Linked DNA regions of Homo sapiens: all the other regions are linked to region 2. Evidence: promoter capture Hi-C in 16 types of primary human blood cells and fetal thymus (Javierre and others, 2016). All regions are on one chromosome and are shown on one strand. The core of a region is centred on a gene start or on the middle of the fragment in contact, and the rest is flanking DNA. Distances in the headings are between cores, read along the strand shown. Region 1 has its middle 16 kb from the start of FIRRE. Region 2 holds the start of FRMD7 (FERM domain containing 7). Region 3 has its middle 47 kb from the start of HS6ST2-AS1.

The links. Contacts are between HindIII fragments. The CHiCAGO score rates a contact against its expected background, and 5 or more counts as called.
Region 1: a contact is called between a fragment that was not itself captured here and the fragment with the promoter of FRMD7 in region 2, in 1 of 17 cell types (neutrophils). The highest score is 5.1, in neutrophils.
Region 3: a fragment that was not itself captured here is called in contact with the fragment with the promoter of FRMD7 in region 2 in 10 of 17 cell types (non-activated CD4 T cells, naive B cells, naive CD4 T cells and 7 more); the score reaches 8.1 in non-activated CD4 T cells.

Annotation. Positions count from the first base shown.
Region 1 is chrX:131,845,590-131,848,364 of GRCh38, reverse strand. No RefSeq gene overlaps it. Among named protein-coding and RNA genes, the nearest start is that of FIRRE, 16 kb to the right of the region's middle. The HindIII fragment of the contact is 6,188 bases long and covers 1-2,775 here.
Region 2 is chrX:132,126,745-132,129,499 of GRCh38, reverse strand. FRMD7 (FERM domain containing 7) reads left to right here and starts at 1,480. Exons shown (of 12, transcript NM_194277.3): 1 at 1,480-1,712. The coding sequence starts at 1,656. The HindIII fragment of the contact is 2,038 bases long and covers 1,287-2,755 here.
Region 3 is chrX:132,619,023-132,621,733 of GRCh38, reverse strand. No RefSeq gene overlaps it. Among named protein-coding and RNA genes, the nearest start is that of HS6ST2-AS1, 47 kb to the left of the region's middle. The HindIII fragment of the contact is 2,069 bases long and covers 364-2,432 here.

The DNA.
Region 1 (2,775 bases), core at 10-2,509, 280 kb after region 2:
ACTTGACTTATTTGGAATTGGTATTATTTATTCCTGAAATGTTTGGTAGGGTTCAACAGTGAAGTTATTTGGGTCTGGAGTCTTCTTTGTGGGAACACTTTAAACTACAAATTCAACTTCTTGAACAAATATAAGACTATGCATGGCTGAGCATGGTGGCTCACGCCTGTAATCCCAGCACTTTGGGAGGGTAAGGTGGGTGGATCACCTGAGGTCAGGAGTTCGAGACCAGCCTGGACAACATGGTGAAACCCCGTCTCTACTAAAAATACAAAAATTAGCCCGGCAATAGTGGCAAGCACCTGTAATCCCAGCTACTCCGGAGGCTGAGGCAAGAAAATCGCTTGAGCCTGGGAGGTGGAGGTTGCGGTGAGCCGAGATCGCACCACTGCACTCCAGTCTGGGCGACAGAGTGAGAGCCTGACTCAAAAAAAATAATAAAAATAAAAATAAAAATAAATAAGATACAGGACTATGCATTCTTGGGAGAGTTTTCCTTGTTTGTGGTGCTTGTGTCTTTCAAAGAATTTATCGATTTCATTTAAATTTTTAACTATATGATATGAAATAAAGTTGTTAATAATATTAATTTTTTTTTATGGAGTCTCACTCTTGTTGCCCAGGCTGGAGTGCAGTGGCACGATCTCGGCTCACTGCAACCTCAGCCTCCCGGGTTCAAGCAATTCTCTTGCCTCAGACTCCCAAATAGCTGGTATTACAGGCGTCCGCCACCACACCCGGCTAATTTTTGTATGTTTAGTACAGGCAGGGTTTCACCACGTTGGACAGGCTGGTCTAGAACCCCTAACCTCAGGTGATCCACCAGCCTCAGCCTCCCAAAATGTTGGGATTACAGGCGTGAGCCACCGCACCAGGCCTCTTATTTTTTAATAAACATAATCTGTGGTGATGACTTTTCTTTCATTCCTAATATAGGTTTTTGGGGGCCTTCACTCTTTTATTTCTAATTATTTTGATTGGAGGTTTTAAAATTTTATTAATTTTCTTAAAGAATCAATTTTTTGTTTTACTGGTTTTTCTCTATTGTTTTTCTCTTTTTATTTCACTTTAACTCCACTTTTATTACTTCCTTCCTTCTGCTTACCTTTAGTTTAATTTGCTCATCTTTTTCATTCTTAAGTTAGAAGCTGAGGTCATGGATTTGAGGCCTGTAGTCTTTAGTAACATAGGTGGTTTAGTGCTATAAATTTACCCTTACGTACTGATTTGGTCACATTCCACAAATTTGGACATGTTAATTTATTTTCATTTCATTGAAAATATTTTCTAATTTCCCTTTGAGTTTCTACCTTGATTTCTATGTTATTTCAAAGTTTGTAATTTTGGCCAGGTGTGGTGGTTCATGCCTGTAATCCCAGCACTTTGGGAGGCAGAGGCAGGTGGATCACTTGAGGTCAGGAGTTCAAGACCAGCCTGTCCAATATGGTGAAACCCCATCTTTACTAAAAAAAAAATAATAATAATACAAAAATTAGCTGGGCGTGGTGGCACGCACCGGTAATCCCAGCTACTCAGGAGGCTGAGACAGGAGAATCAGTTGAACTCAGGAGGCGGAGGTTGCAATGAGCCAAGATGGTGCCACTGCACTCCAGCCTGGGCAACAGAGCGAGACTCTGTCTCAAAAAAAAAAAAAAAAAAAATGAAGTGGAAGTTCTTTTAAATACTACATTTTGAAGTCTGGGGTCATGGAAAATGGGTCTTATATTCTTAACCTCACCTTTTTGGAAACTAGTTAGAATTGTTATTTTATTTATTTATTTTTTATTTTTAGTTCAGGAGTACATGTGCAGGATGTGCAGGTTTGTTACATAGGTAAATGTGTGCCATGGTGGTTTGCTGCACAGATCATCCCATCACCTAGGTATTAAGCCAAGCAAGCATTAACTATTTTTCCTAATGCTCTCCCTCTCCCCACCCCACCTGCCCATAGGCCCCAGTGTATGTTGTTCCTCTCCCTATGTCCATGTGTTCTCATTGGAAACCTAGAAACTATTTTAAGTCAGTAAGCTGACATATTTGTTGGTATTACATTATCTGCTGCCCATATCCAAGGGTTATTATCCCTTGTAACCTGATATCCAGGAACTCAATAACTGTTGTTTCATATATTTGTAGTTTTTGGTTATTTCAAGCATGAGGGCAAATTGGTCTCTTTCTCCAGAGTGACTAGAAGTGGGATTGCCTTTTTCATGTTTTTAAACATTGTAAGCATAGTTGTTTTATGGTCTGTGTCTTAATAATTCCATTAACTGAAATTTTGTGCCTTTTTTTGCCTATTATTCTGCCTGTTCTTGCCCATTGTGTCTTGTTTGTTTATGGACCTGGTTATTTTTGTCATCATACTTTGTTATCTGTAGCAATGACTTTAGGATAGGATGAAGTCACTTTCCTCCAGAGAAGATTTCCATTTGCCTCTGCCAAGTTATTGGGGTTATTCTCAGTTGAGGACGATCTTAAATTTTAAGGCTTGGGATTCCCTGGATTATTAGGTAAATAGAACAAAAGATGAAATTATGTGTGAGAGCTCAACCAAATCCTATTCATCTATTCTCTGTGGTGTAGCCTTTTTGGGGGCCACCTTATTGAAGAAAGGCTCTACTTTGTATATATTGTGGCTTTTAGTTTAATATTTATCTTGCCCTAAGAGGCTATCAGAACAAAAGTTACAATTTTCTGATTTGGCAAATATTCACATGGCAAAAGTAGCTTCCAGTTCTCATTTATCTCCCTACGTCTTCATTTTCCATTTATTTT
Region 2 (2,755 bases), core at 231-2,730:
TAAATGGTTTGCATGAGAGCCACTTGGAGTGCATGTTGAAAATTGATCTATTTGGGGTCCACCCCAAACCTAACAACCCAATTTGGGGATGGGGTTCAGGTATCGGCATTTTTAAAAAGTCAGCCACCCTTCCCAGGTGATTCTGTAAGTTGGTCCCTCAACCGTACTTAGAGAAATAGTGTTTTAAAGCAGTGGTCCACAAAGTATTCTGCTCATGTGACCCCCAAAAGTATTTTGAAAAATCATGTGTCCCCTCACCCATCTAAGTTGACATCTAAAATTTTTCATGGGAAGTTAAATACTTGACAAAGTATGTGTTTGCTGGTGTCATATAAATATTGGTATTTTAAAATAAAAACTGTTACATCACTATTTTAAACATATCCGGTACAATTTAAATATCACAACAATTTGACACCCTTTATTCATTTATAAAAATAAACGAGCTAGTTCTTTAGTAGTTGAACATTTTAAATTGGCTTTTCTTCTTCTATATTTTCATACCACTTTCAGCCAAGAATCCTATCGTAATGTAATCTACTGTGCTTGGCATCTTTTAATCATTCACCCATTATCTTCTTGTCAACAAAAAATACAAATGGAGGTAAGTTTTCTTAGTTCTTGCCTTAAGTGTTATCTCAGTCCAGAATAAATGTCATCGTAATTATTGTTATATAATGAAAATGATATTAATGTAATTCTTTGATGACTGTTTTATTAGAACGTTCTTTATCCTAATTAGTTCATTTATCCAAGAATACATGAATGTTATTTACAGCTGAGATGGGGTTCGACCTTAGTTGTATTCCTTGTTTCATTTCTTTATAGATGTAAGCACATAAATTCTATGGGAATAGAAAGAAAAAAAATTGGTTACCAATAGGGGTGTATTGGGAACACAGAAAAGAGGGAACAGGAGTGGAAGTGAAGTTTTCTATATACCTTTTTATATAGTTTTTATTTCTAAATCATGTGAATTCAGATAATTAAAATTATGCATAATTTTATATTATATATGTTTCTATATAATAGCAATTATATGGATATATTATATCTATATAATTATATATGGATATATTATATCTATATAATTATATATGGATATATTATATCTATATAATTATATATAGATATATATAAGCATAGATAGATAGATAGATAGATAGATAGATAGATAGATAGATAGATAGATGCTTCCTAGCTTGGCCATGAAATTTCTAGTACAATTTGAGATTAACTTGAATCTTTTTACTTTTGAGAATGGCTATTCTCAGTTTATTAAAGCTTGATCTAGGGTTTTCAAATTGTGCCCTTGTGAAATAAAGAAAATCCCCAGGGACCACAAATGCTTGCTTTCTTTATATTTTTCTTTGAAGAAAGGAGCTGAGTTTAAGAAGGCTAGAGGAAGTCCAGTTAGATTTGATATTGACCAAACAGGAGACTGCCCAGATGCTATTGATCCCCTGCACTTGGCAGCACAAATGCCCTTGGGTGTGCATTACTTCAAGCAAACGGAAGTGTGCCCCGCTGACAGTGGGAATGCCTGGCTGGGGGTGGGGGGGCCCGAGTGCACCACATCCAGCTGGGAGTGAAATTCCTGGAGAAAGCACCCACAGCACTCTGAGCCTGCTTGCAGCCCAACGGCCTCGCTGAGAATGCTACATTTAAAAGTGCAGTTTTTGGATGATTCCCAGAAGATTTTTGTGGTTGATGTAAGTGGAAATCACATTGCTATTATTCCTTTATTATTCATTCAATAATTGTCATTTGTGAACAGCCCATTAGAGAGCAATGTTATGTCTTCTTTAGGACTGAATGAAGGAGGACTGTGATTTTTAGCTTTGGAAAAATAATCTGTATTTAACATCACAATGTAGTTCATATTTTTCCATTAACCTTTCTCTTAGAACAAGTTGTCTTTTCTCAAGGGACAACAATAGCAAATTTTAAAGACAGGATAACTATTTGCAAAAAGTAAAGCAGCAATAAACTAGTTCTTTTACCCAATAAGGTATTGTTGTTCATTGAAATTATGTCTGTGGGTCTCACCCCATGAGCATTTGTGGGGAGAAAACTGTTGTTCTGAGGGAAAGGAGTGGGGGAAGCTATCCTCCTTTTCTGAAGAAAACCTATGGGTTATAAGGGGTAGAATTATGTAGTTGTAATGAGAACTTCAGGAAGGAATGACAAGTATGAGAGAGAAAAATAGGATAAGAGACTATTTAGTTTGATTTAGTACTTATAGTTCAGAGTTCTTAATAAATTCCTAGCTACAAGATGATTGCATACAATTATACCTCATCTCTTCAAGAAAGAACAAATGTATTAAGCACATCATTTGGTGCTCATGTTCCAACATCTTAAGATATGTACATTTTGATGTCAGGATTTATGTATGAGCATTTTGAAAAGTTCTACATTTTTATTGGAACCAAAAATGCTATTTGCTCTGATATTTACATTAGCCACTAACAAGAGACAAATAGTTTATTTTCTCTGAAATTCATACAAAATGTTGGTTTTTTTCTTTTATACATAAACTGACAACTGCTGTGGCTCAGCCATGATGTTGTGTGTGTGGGTAGCCCATTTTTCCAATGAGTATTTTATTTTTATTTGAATCATGTGCTTTGTGAGTGATGACTTCATGTCTTCATCTGCTGTTTTGCTGTCTCTTCCTTTCAGTTTTATGCGCAAAAGGCATTTCTAGTTCCACGGACCTGAATGATTTGTTTTTGTAGCAAATAGCTTCCAT
Region 3 (2,711 bases), core at 149-2,648, 490 kb before region 2:
TTCATGTAACTTATAAGGACCTGAGAAGAACAGTCAAGTCTTAAAAGAGAGTGCTACACCATAGCTTGATAGGACCTAACCAGCCAACTAGAGCCAATCTTAATCAGCCTTTTCATGGATTCATCCAAAACACAAGATTGCTTTTTTTTTTCTCAGTCCTGAAGGCGGTCTTCTGTCCCTGAAACTACCTAGAGTAGGATTACATGTTCATCAAGGCCCTTGAGACCATATGGCAAAGACATTATGAATTCGGTCAAAAAGATGGATTCTGGCTTCACAAGGCTGAACACATAGGAAGGAAGTTGAAATAAGGAGCCTGAACACTGATTAGTTAAGATGAATAGCATTTATCAAGGATAAGCTTGAAGGCTGGGCACTGTGGCTCATGCCTGTAATCCCTGTAATTCCAATACTTTGGGAGGCTGAGTGGGGAGGATCACTTGAACCCAGGAGTTCGAGACCAGCCCAGGTAACATGGCGAAACCTCTCTCTACAATATAGATAAAAATTAGCTGGGCATGGTATTGTGTGCCTGTAGTCTCAGCTACTCAGGAGGCCGAGTCAGGAGGATTATGTAAACCTGGGAGGTCAAGGTTGCAGTGAGCTGTGATTGTGCCACTGCACTCCAGCCTGGGTGACAAAGAGAGACCGAGACCCTGTCTCAAAAAAAAAAAAAAAATGGCTTGACCTAAGAAGCACTAACAAGCATCAGTAAGTTGTCCAGTTTCCCATCCCTTCCCAGTGTCCACATGCTTTCTCCAAACTCCCAGGACCTTGGCATATTCCCAGCACTCCCACTCTAAGGCAGGTTTGTATGTAGCCCACCTGGATGGTCCCAATGTCTTCTTAACTATCCTTCTGTCTTCAGCCTCTTTCTTGATCACCGGGCTCATCTTCCTAAAACTTTCTCAGAACAGAAGCTATGAGCCTGTGGCTTCAGAATCCTCCCTGATGTGGTTCAGAAATGCAGATTCTCTAGGCCGCACTGCAGATGATCTGAATCAGAATCTCCCACCTCAGCCTCCCAAGTAGCTGGGACCACAGGGGCAAGCCACCACACCTGGATAATTTTATTTTGTGTTGAGACAGGGTCTTACTATGTTGGCCAGGCTGGTCTCAAAATCCCGGGCTCAAGTGATCCTCCCACCTTGGCTTCCCAACGTGCTGGGATTACAGGCATGAGCTGCCAACCCTGGCCTGGAAGCATTTATTTACCTAGCTCTAGCTTGCTGATCTAGCGTCCAGCTTCTGGTAACTTGATTTCTGTCTTGTAGCCCATTCATTTGACAAACCTGTGTTGAGCACTTTACTGTGAGTTAGGGCCAGTGAAACAGGAAGCCAGGAGGGAGGTCAGAGAATACTTATTAAGGAAGTGATTCCCAGCTGTATCCCTTTCCTGGGGCCAAGAGCCCTGCTCTAACCCCCTCCCCCCATGAATGAAACAACCTGGTGTTGAATCTCCAGCTGTCTCCTGCCTTCTTGAATCTTGAATCTGCCTTCTTGAATGTCCAGTTGTCTCCTGCTCCAGAAGCTCTGTGGAGGATGGTTTTGACAGTTTAACTTGAAGCTACTTAGTTGGTCCTATTCTTGAATGGAAATTTCTGAACTTCAGGCACTGAAACAGTTATTACAGCCCCACACCACTAAGGGAAGACAGTTCTTATTCAGCCAGGAGACTTCAATGCCAATATATGCCCATCCTGACCAGGTGTGAAGAGTCTGACTCTTGATGCTAATTATAATGATGATGATCTATACCATTTATTAAGTGCGTACTGTATGCCAGGTGCTCTTCTTGGCCCTTCATATAACAGCAGCAGTGGCAGTTAATATTTGTGGAAATTACATTATAGTTCAGACAGTGTACTAAGCCTTTTTATGCATCACCTCATTTTGTTTTTTGTTTGTTTGTTTTTTTTTTTTTGGAGAGACGAGGGTCTCACCATGTTGCCCAGGCTGGTCTCAAACTCCTGAGCCCAAGCAATCCTCCTGCCTTAGCCTCCCAAAGTGCTAGGATTACAGGCATGAGCCACTGTGCCTGGTCTGCATCACCTCACTTAATCTTCACAACCACCCAGTGAGGCAGGAAAAATTCTTTCCCACATTTTACAGAGGAATATGCTGAGACTCAGGAGAGCTTCATTAACTTGCCTAATACTTTAGAATCAAGCCTAGTTCTAAATCCAGAGTGCAGTATCTTCACCTTATTCATGATTTAAAACATTTTATTATGGAAAGATTCTATCTGCAAAACTAGGGAGAACAGCATCATGAACCTCCTTTCCCAATCACTCAACTTCAGTAATTATCAACTCAGCCAATCTAATTTAATCTGTGTCCTCACTAATTTCCCTACAATCTGTAATATATTAAAGCAACTCCCGGACATCATCTGTATATATTTTGTTATGTATGTATCTCTGAAAGAAGCTTTATTTCATTTTTCTAAAAACACTTGCAGGTAAACTTTATTATCTCCCCATTATACAGAAAAGTAAATGGAGGTTCAGGGAGGAGTGTCTCAAGCCACATAACTAGCAAGCGGCAGGTCCGAGTGTCACACCCAGGTTTGTCTACCTCCAAAGCCTTTGCTTTGCTGGTGTTTTCTTTGCTAAAACTGGAGCTTTCTTCTATAGCAAAAACTTCTTCCAGGACAGCACTGGGGAATGGAGGGCCTTGAGCTCCTGATACTGCCAAGCTAGGAAACCATT